Regions from separate parts of the Homo sapiens genome. Here regions 1 and 2 are each linked to region 3. The links are contacts of gene promoters, found by promoter capture Hi-C in blood cells and fetal thymus (Javierre and others, 2016). All regions are on one chromosome and are shown on one strand. The core of a region is centred on a gene start or on the middle of the fragment in contact, and the rest is flanking DNA. Distances in the headings are between cores, read along the strand shown.

Region 1 (2,700 bases), core at 128-2,627, 410 kb after region 3:
ATTGATTCCACCCACCCCCTCCTCCCCCAAGTAGGGAGAACAATAACAATGCTTACATTCAAGCTTTATCCTAGGCCATCATTACTGGTATTCTATAGTTCAGGGAAAAACTGAGGCACAGAGAGGTTAAGTAACTTGCCCAAATCACACAGCTGGTAAGTGGCAGAACCATAGCCGAATTCTGGCAGTCCACTGCAAAGCCCACTCTCAAGCAATCTCTAATCGCAATGACTTGGCTCTCAGGGTTGTGGTGGGTAAGCCTGCTGTGCTCGGAAACTGAATAGTAGCTCATGGCCTATCCATGATAGGTAAAGGGTTGATTGGTTGCAAACCTCTTATCTAAATGGCCTGTAAAAGCACACACTGTGCTTGCTCACAGTGCCCAGAGACCACGTGGGAGGTGCCAAATATGGGTGGTAACAGGCAAGGAAGAGGGAGTATCTGTACCAAATCTGGTTTTGAGGAAGAATTGTATGTCATGTTGAATTGACAGTCTGGCTAATTGGATGGGTAGATGGCTCCTACATGGGTGTCGTAGGCTCTGGCAATGCTGGGCATCCCATTTTCCCATAACTTGTCAGGCTTAAAGTGATTACTGAGGAAGGTGGAAACCAGGCTTGACCACTTGGTTCTTGGTCCATGTGTTCAGACTTCCCTAGAGAGCACCTGTCCTGGAGGATCTAAGCCAGGGCTTCTCATGGTGAGCCCTCTCCGAGAGTGGAGAAGCAGACCAAGGCAGTGGGGAGTGGGACTCTTCTTATGTGGATCATGCCCAGCACCAAATGAGATTGATTCCAGATTAGGTCAGCAGTCATTCTAGACCAGATGGTCCCTATGGAAAAAAAGTGGAGAGTTAGAACAGGGAAGGGTGAGCAGCAAAAGATGCAAAGGAGAGGGAAAACTGGAACAAGGGACAATAATTTCAAATCTGTAGGTTTGTCTTTTTCCCTCTCTTCCTAAGCAGTTTAGTCCTAAAGCCACTAAATAATGCACAGCCAAAAGGGAAAATATTCGTGCATGTGGCAGGGGGAGAAGCCAGCACTAACTTTTGCTAGAAGTGTTCATTGGAGCCCCAGAAAATCCCCTGGGTTCCAGACCTAGTCCTCTGCCACGATCGTGTGGTAATAACCCCAATTTTCCCTTGATAATTGGGGTCAGTCACTTCAGCCCGCAAAGTCACTGCTCTTTTTTGATTTAATGTCATGAGGCACCCAAAAATGTCTAAATGGAGGCAGTCTCAGCTTCCAGTTTGATGGAGCCATTGTTGGGTCCCTGGTGGAAATAGTCCTCCCTTGGGAACCAAGACCTTCCAAGCAAGCAGAGCTCAAAATTGTGGAGATGAGAAGTGACTGGTCATTATGTGTGCTAGTGGGAAGACCTGCTTTCTTTTCTGTTCTTGCTTCCTGGGCCCATGAAGAGACAGCACTATGAATAGGTCTTTGATTTGAAGGATATATTGCATCCTATAAGATAAAACCCTATTCTTTCAGGGTGTTGACTCCCATCTGGTGCCCTAGGTAATTATCTAGTAGGCCATCCCACTGTTCAGACTGACCTCTTCACGATGGGATCTCTGGTAAGACCAATGAGTTTCATGAACCACAAGCCCATTGTTGCAAGCCTCTGTAATGCATGCCTTCCAGTGAGTATCCACATCAGATATTTGGGACCCAAATATCTGTTCCCCTTTGTGCCCAGTTTGAGAAGTTTATCTATATAATTTCCCCAGATCTCATCACCAATGTTCCAACCCTTGTCCCTCCATAACCATCCAGTCATTAATTAGAAATCTTCCTTTAGTCAGCAGATCTGTACTTCTGGTCATCTCTCAGTTCAAACAAAGTGGATAACCAAACAGCTCCAAGTTCTGCTGAATAGGAAGTCTTCTGTTTATCACTGTCCTTCAGAGACACCCAAGTGAGATTGTAATATTGCCATCCACTTTCTGTTGGTTCCAACATATAGAGAACTGCCTGCAAATCAAGCCCAGATTATTTCCTTCTCAGCTACCTAGTCATAAGGAACTCCCAGCAGGCATAGATGAGGATTGAGGGGGAGGAGGCAATGCAGCCAGAGTCAGTGTCGAAGGAGTCTGACTTACTTCTGTCCTCTGGACCTGCTTGAGTCCAGCCTTTTCTATTTTTGCTGCACAGGTCTAATCTGTGGCTAGGTGTGTCAATAACTATAAATTCATGATGGAAAGCTCAGGTCACAAGGTTACTTGATATCTCATGGTTCAGTGTTTATTCTTTACTAAGGGCCAGTAGAAAAGCAGAATCTTTTTCAAACAGATATTAGTTACTTGGAGAAGAGGGCATGGATTTGCCTCCACACTCCAGAGTTCTGTACTGTGATTGTCCTATTAATGCTTGTCACAGGCTCCACAGACCAGCCTGTTTGTCACAGGCACTTTTACTAGCATTGGATCTGTGGGGTCATAAGGCTTGTTCTTCAGCCTGGGCTTGATGCAGAGCAAGAGATTGCTTTAGTCTCTGCTCAAAATTGATTACTCAGTAAATGGGTTGAAATAACACACTCAAGTTTGGTATGCATTGCCTCCAAATGCCAAGAAGGATCCACCAAGGATTTTCTTTATTTTTTAGTTGTAGGTGATGCAAAGTACAGCAACTTGTCTTTTGCCTTGGAGAGGCAATCTTAACAAGCTCGTCACACTAGATCTCTGGAAGCTTTGAGATCATA
Region 2 (2,700 bases), core at 51-2,550, 380 kb after region 3:
ATTGAAAGATTTGAAACTTACCTCTGCTGGTGTGGGGGCTACTTCTTTCCTTCAGGTCATCCCTGTAGCCACCCATCTGCTGAACAATGGCAGTGGGGTAGGAGTTCTACAGTGTCTCGAGCATATGATTGGGGCAGTGAGAAGCAAAGTGCTGGAGGTGAGAATGCCCGTATTTCAGTACATTGTGGCATACCCAGCATTCTGGGGTTGTTCTGCACCTATCTTTGGCCTCCTGTCTTACTGTCTTCTTTCTCTTCCCATGAAGATTCACAGCCATTTCCCACACAAACCCATTATCTTGATTGGCTGGAACACAGGAGCTTTGGTGGCCTGTCATGTAAGTAATTTCTATCTTATTTGGAGGTTGTCCTGGGATGGAATACCACTAATCATAGCTACCATTGAGTCCTTTACTGTGTGTCAGGCTCTGCGCTAGATACTTTACCTATATAATTACATTTTAAACTGTAGAAGACAAATTTTATTAAAACAATTTTTAATTTATTTTGGAAAACTTTAAGCAGAAACAAAAGCAGGTGTAGTATAATAAACCCCCGGATCCTCACCCAGCTTTACCAGTGATCAACTCTTGGCTGGGCTTGTTTCATCTCACCCTGCTCATTTTCTTTCTCCCCTAGATTGTTTTGAAGAAAATCCCAAATATAATAGCATTTTCACATACACACACACACACACACACACACACACACACACATATGGGTATATATCTGTGGAAAAAAAAAAAAGATCCCTTTTTTTCTCTAAACATAAGTACCATACTGTTCTCCCACCTAAAAAACAACAGTAATTGTAGCTGGCAAATATTAATAGCTCTGGAATTTGATGCTGTGTTCATTTCAGTCTTTTTCCAAGACATCAAGGAATCTTTTCGTATTTTACATATATTTGTATGTCTGTCAGTTTGTGTAAGTGTCCCTCATGTCCAAACCCTTAATTTTGCTTCATGCAGTCCAATCAAGTGTGATAGCTATGAGAGGAAGAAGGTCCCCATAGTCCCTGCTCCCAGGGTGTTAGGCCTTAGCAGTTTGCTCCAAGAAATCTAGGCTGTCTGGTAGCTATCCATTAAGTTCAATAGAGAGAATTTTTTTTCACTTAAGGGTTAATGGCAACATTGTGTTCTCTTGACTATATTTACTATTTGTGGAGAAAAATGGAGCAGGAGGGCTCTAGTTGAGGGGGTTGACAGGGTAGGAATACTGAACCTTCTATCCTATGGTTCAGCCACCTGCTGGGGTCCTCTTAGGGCCCCAGTTCTCTAGGTAGTGGCTGCTTATGGAATGACATACCTTGTGTCTTGTGCTCTTACTGCTGCCATTGTGGCAGAAGATGCACCCGGATATTAGGACAGGAGAGGAAGAGGTGAGACTGTCTGGTGGGTCTGGACCACTCCTGGATTCTGGGTAGGCTGAGGTGCCATGAACTCAGTTGACGTTTAGACAAACTGTTCTGTTATTTACAGGTGTCAGTAATGGAGTATGTCACTGCAGTTGTCTGCCTTGGGTTTCCTCTGCTTACTGTGGATGGCCCCAGAGGGGTAAGAATGTGGTAAAGCTGAGTGCTGGGTCATTGGCAGTGGGAGCGCGAGTGTGCATGCCTTGTCCAAGCTGATGCTGAGGCTGACTGCAGTTGCATGGCTGATCCTCCTTAGTGGAGTTTCTGGGTCAGTGCTTTGTGAATATGAAGAAGCCGATTCTAAAACCTATACCTGTTTTAGGATGTAGATGATCCCCTCTTGGATATGAAGACTCCAGTCCTCTTTGTCATTGGTCAGAATTCCCTTCAATGTCACCCTGAAGCCATGGAGGACTTCCGGGAGAAGATTCGAGCTGAGAACAGCTTGGTGGTGGTTGGGGGAGCTGATGACAATCTCAGGTGGGTGGATTCTCCCAGAGCTGCAAGAGAGCTGTGTTACAGTGTTAGAGATAAGCCTGGAAGCTGGCAATGTAACTACAGACCAGTCTGGTTCAGTTAAAAGACAGCATTAGCCGGGCGCGGTGGCTCACGCCTGTAATCCCAGGACTTTGGGAGGCTGAGGCAGGCGGATCACGAGGTCAGGAGATTGAGACCATCCTGGCTAACACGGTGAAACCCCGTCTCTACTAAAAATACAAAAAATTAGCCAGGCCTGGTGTCGGGCGCCTGTAGTCCCAGCTACTCGGGAGGCTGAGGCAGGAGAATGGTGTGAACCCAGAAGGCGGAGCTTGCAGTGAGCCGAGATCCCGCCACTGCACTCCAGCCTGGGTGACAGAGCAAGACTCTGTCTCAAAAAAAAAAAAAAATTAAAAAAAGACAGCATTAAAAAAACCTTTTTTAATATTTGAAATTTCAGATTTATAAAAAGTTATAACACTAGTACAAAACAATTCCTATATACCCTTCACCTGATTTTCTAAATGTTAAACATCTTACATAGCCAAAGTGTAATTCTCAAAATCAAGAAATTAACATCTACATGATACTGTAATTTACAGACTCATGTTTCATCAGTTGTTTCCCTAATGTCATTTTTCTGGTCCAGCATCCAGCCCAGGATCACACTTGGATTTAGTTGCCATGTCTCCTCAGTCTCCTTTAATTTGATAGAGTTCCTCCATCTTTGTCTTTCACGACCTTGAGCTTTTTTTTTTTTTTTTTTTTTTTTTTTTTTGAGGTGGCGCCTGGCTCTGTCGCCTATGCTGG
Region 3 (2,700 bases), core at 31-2,530:
CATGGACCCAAAGTCTCTGAGGGGGAAAATGAGGTCGGTTAGATACAGTGGTCATAGCCTCCTTTAAAGGGGAATGAACTTGCCAGATTGATGTAGAGAACAAACCGCCCACTGGTGCATAAACTGCATCAGGCTCCTAGTTAGAACATCCTGCAGCGAAGAGGATGAACAGCAGAAGGGAAAATCCCCAAATTCACACAAGTGCAGAAACCCATGATTAGAGTGTCCTTGGAATGACCTATGCTCATTTTAATGCTAAAAAACACACCCCTGGGTGAGGAATTAAAATGCTAATGAGACATGTGATGTGGTGTACTAGCACGCACATGCACATCTGGGAGACCCCGTAACATGCTTAACAGTAATGCCCATTCCCGCTCCTTTATGAATAATTATGTAAATCTCCCATAAAGGGAAGCTCATCACTGCCAAACAGACACAGCTATCTCACACGTGTGTGTGTGTGTGTGTGTGTGTTAGAGATGGGGGCTTGCTCTTTCGCCAGGCTGGAGTACAGTGCCACGATCTCGGCTCACTGCAACCTCTGCCTACGCCTCCCAGGCTCAAGTGATCCTCTCACCTCAGCCTCTGAAGTAGTTGGGGCTACAGGCACTGCACCACTATGCCCGGCTTTTTTTTTTTTTTTTTTTTTTTTTTTTTTTTTTTTTTTTTTTTTTTTTTGAGACGGCGTCTTGCTCTGCTGCCCAGGCTGGAGTGCGGTGGCGCGATCTCGGCTCATTGCAACCTCCACCTCCCTGGTTCAAGCAATTCCCCTGCCTCAGCCTCCCGCGCAACTGGGATTACAGGCGCACGCCAGCCACCAAGCCCGGTTAATGTTTTTTAATTTTTAGTAGAGACAGGGCTTCACCATGTTGGCCAGACTGGTCTGGAACTCCTGACCTCAGGCAATTCGCCCGCCTCGGCCTCCCAAAGTGCTGGGATTACAGGCGTGAGCCACCGCGCCCTGCCCACGCCAGGCTAATTTTTGTATTTTTAGTAGAGACGGGGTTTCGCCATGTCGCCCAGGCAGGTCTCTCACTCCTGGGCTCAAGCAATCGTCCCGTCTCAGCCTCCCAAAGTGCTGGGATTATAGGCATGAGACACCGCGCCAGGCCACTGTCTCACTGTCTTGGTAAATGCAAGCTACTACAAGTGCGCGTGACCCAGGACTGCCTGGGGGCAGGAGCTTCCGCCAGCCAATTCCCGCGCACGTGGATGCGCACGTGGAGGGCGAGCAGGAAGAGGGCGCGCACGTGGAGGGCTAACAGGAAGAGGGTGCGCACTTGGCCGGCGAGCTCCCCAGCTGGCGGCGGCGGCGGCTGTGAGCTGGCCGCTTGGTTTGGAGTCGGAACTCAATCCCCAGAACTGGATCTTTAGGTTCCACGTTGGCGGCCCTGGATCTAGGGACGCAACTCTTGGGGTCCTCCCACTGCGCCGCCTGGGGAGCCTGCTCCTGCTTCCTTTCCCGGCTAGCTGGCCCCGTCCTCTGAGGCCGTGCGAATTCCCGCCACCCTCCCTCACCCCGGAGCCCTGCCCTTCCCGCCCTATGTGGCCAAGGCTTCCAGGTGCGGGCCTCGCTCCACAACTCAGGAGGCAGGATCAGCGGCTCCATTTTACAGGTAAGGAAACTGAGGCCGAGGAACCGCAGGGGCGCGTGGTTAGCGCTCAGAGAGCACTCGACTTCCCTGGGACTCCTGGCTGGTCCAGGCCTTGCAGGTCAGCCCCGGTGCGGCCGCCGGGCTACTCTGGCGCTTTTCAGGTTCCTGCGACCCCGCGTGGTTCGGGTTCCGACGTGAGCCGGGCCCTCCTCTCCACAGGCCACTGCGCGGCCGGCCTTGGTGGGGTGGAACCTTAGATTGGTTTGAGAACTGGTTTATGTTTTGGTTGATGTGGCATGTTTTGTTTTGATTTTTAATGTTCCCCAGGGTGCAAAGGGTAGCTGGTGTTTTCTTTCCAGAAAGGCTTTCTATTCCCAGCCCCTGCCCGGTTTGATGGATGTGGAGTTTATGATGCTGGAGACCGTTTTCTTTGTGGGTAGAACGCATCTCCTTTCATCTTTCAAATTGTGAGCTCAGTCCTTGCTGACAGGAGCCGCTGCTCTCGCCAGCATTCCCAAGCTATTAAATATTTGTTTAAAAGGATGGATATAAAACATGATGTTAGGAATAAGGCGTCTTGAAAAAGCAGTATTCGCAGAAACAGCACCATTGTAATATTCTGAATTCATCTTGGCTCTTTTGACATCAGGGCCCAAAGCACTTGGGATTCCGTAATTATTTGGCCTCATGCTACACTTTAAGACAGATTATTTTATTTTTCTTGTAGTCAGGAAAGTAAAAGAACAAAAAAACTGAGATGACATGTTGAAATCTCACTGCGAGGACGCGAGGGAGGATGAGGGAAGCGGGGAGGGCGGCTGAACGCTAAAGGCTGGGGCTGGGGTTTGCAGGATTCGGGGAGACAAGAGCCCAGGCAGAGGGATGTGCTGGGCAGAGGGGGCGCCATCCATGGGCTGCATTGTAGAGTGAGCATGGCCAAGTCAAGGAGCTGAACAAGACGACTTCAGTCCTGAACCTGGAAAGAATGTGAGATGGAGGAGAAACAGGTCCTGGCTGGCGGGTATTGGGCCCCAGGAGGGAAAGAGATAACAAAGTTAAGTTTGGAGACTAACGCTGTCTCCTGTTTGACTGGGGGGCCTTC

Evidence for each region. The method cuts DNA at HindIII sites, captures the fragments that hold promoters and counts their contacts. A CHiCAGO score of 5 or more calls a contact.
Region 1: a contact is called between a fragment that was not itself captured here and the fragment with the promoter of FAM178B in region 3, in 1 of 17 cell types (erythroblasts). The highest score is 5.3, in erythroblasts.
Region 2: a contact is called between a fragment that was not itself captured here and the fragment with the promoter of FAM178B in region 3, in 1 of 17 cell types (naive CD8 T cells). The highest score is 5.2, in naive CD8 T cells.

The regions. Positions count from the first base shown.
Region 1 is chr2:96,575,367-96,578,066 of GRCh38, reverse strand. No RefSeq gene overlaps it. Among named protein-coding and RNA genes, the nearest start is that of ARID5A, 40 kb to the right of the region's middle. The HindIII fragment of the contact is 2,624 bases long and covers 66-2,689 here.
Region 2 is chr2:96,609,919-96,612,618 of GRCh38, reverse strand. It overlaps KANSL3 (KAT8 regulatory NSL complex subunit 3), which reads left to right. Exons shown (of 21, transcript NM_001115016.3): 8 at 56-157; 9 at 266-337; 10 at 1,481-1,555; 11 at 1,736-1,893. Among named protein-coding and RNA genes, the nearest start is that of KANSL3, 27 kb to the left of the region's middle. The HindIII fragment of the contact is 9,937 bases long and covers 1-2,700 here.
Region 3 is chr2:96,985,160-96,987,859 of GRCh38, reverse strand. FAM178B (family with sequence similarity 178 member B) reads left to right here and starts at 1,280. Exons shown (of 17, transcript NM_001122646.3): 1 at 1,280-1,619. The coding sequence starts at 1,547. RefSeq lists enhancers at 1,202-1,722, 1,723-2,243. The HindIII fragment of the contact is 31,542 bases long and covers 1-2,700 here.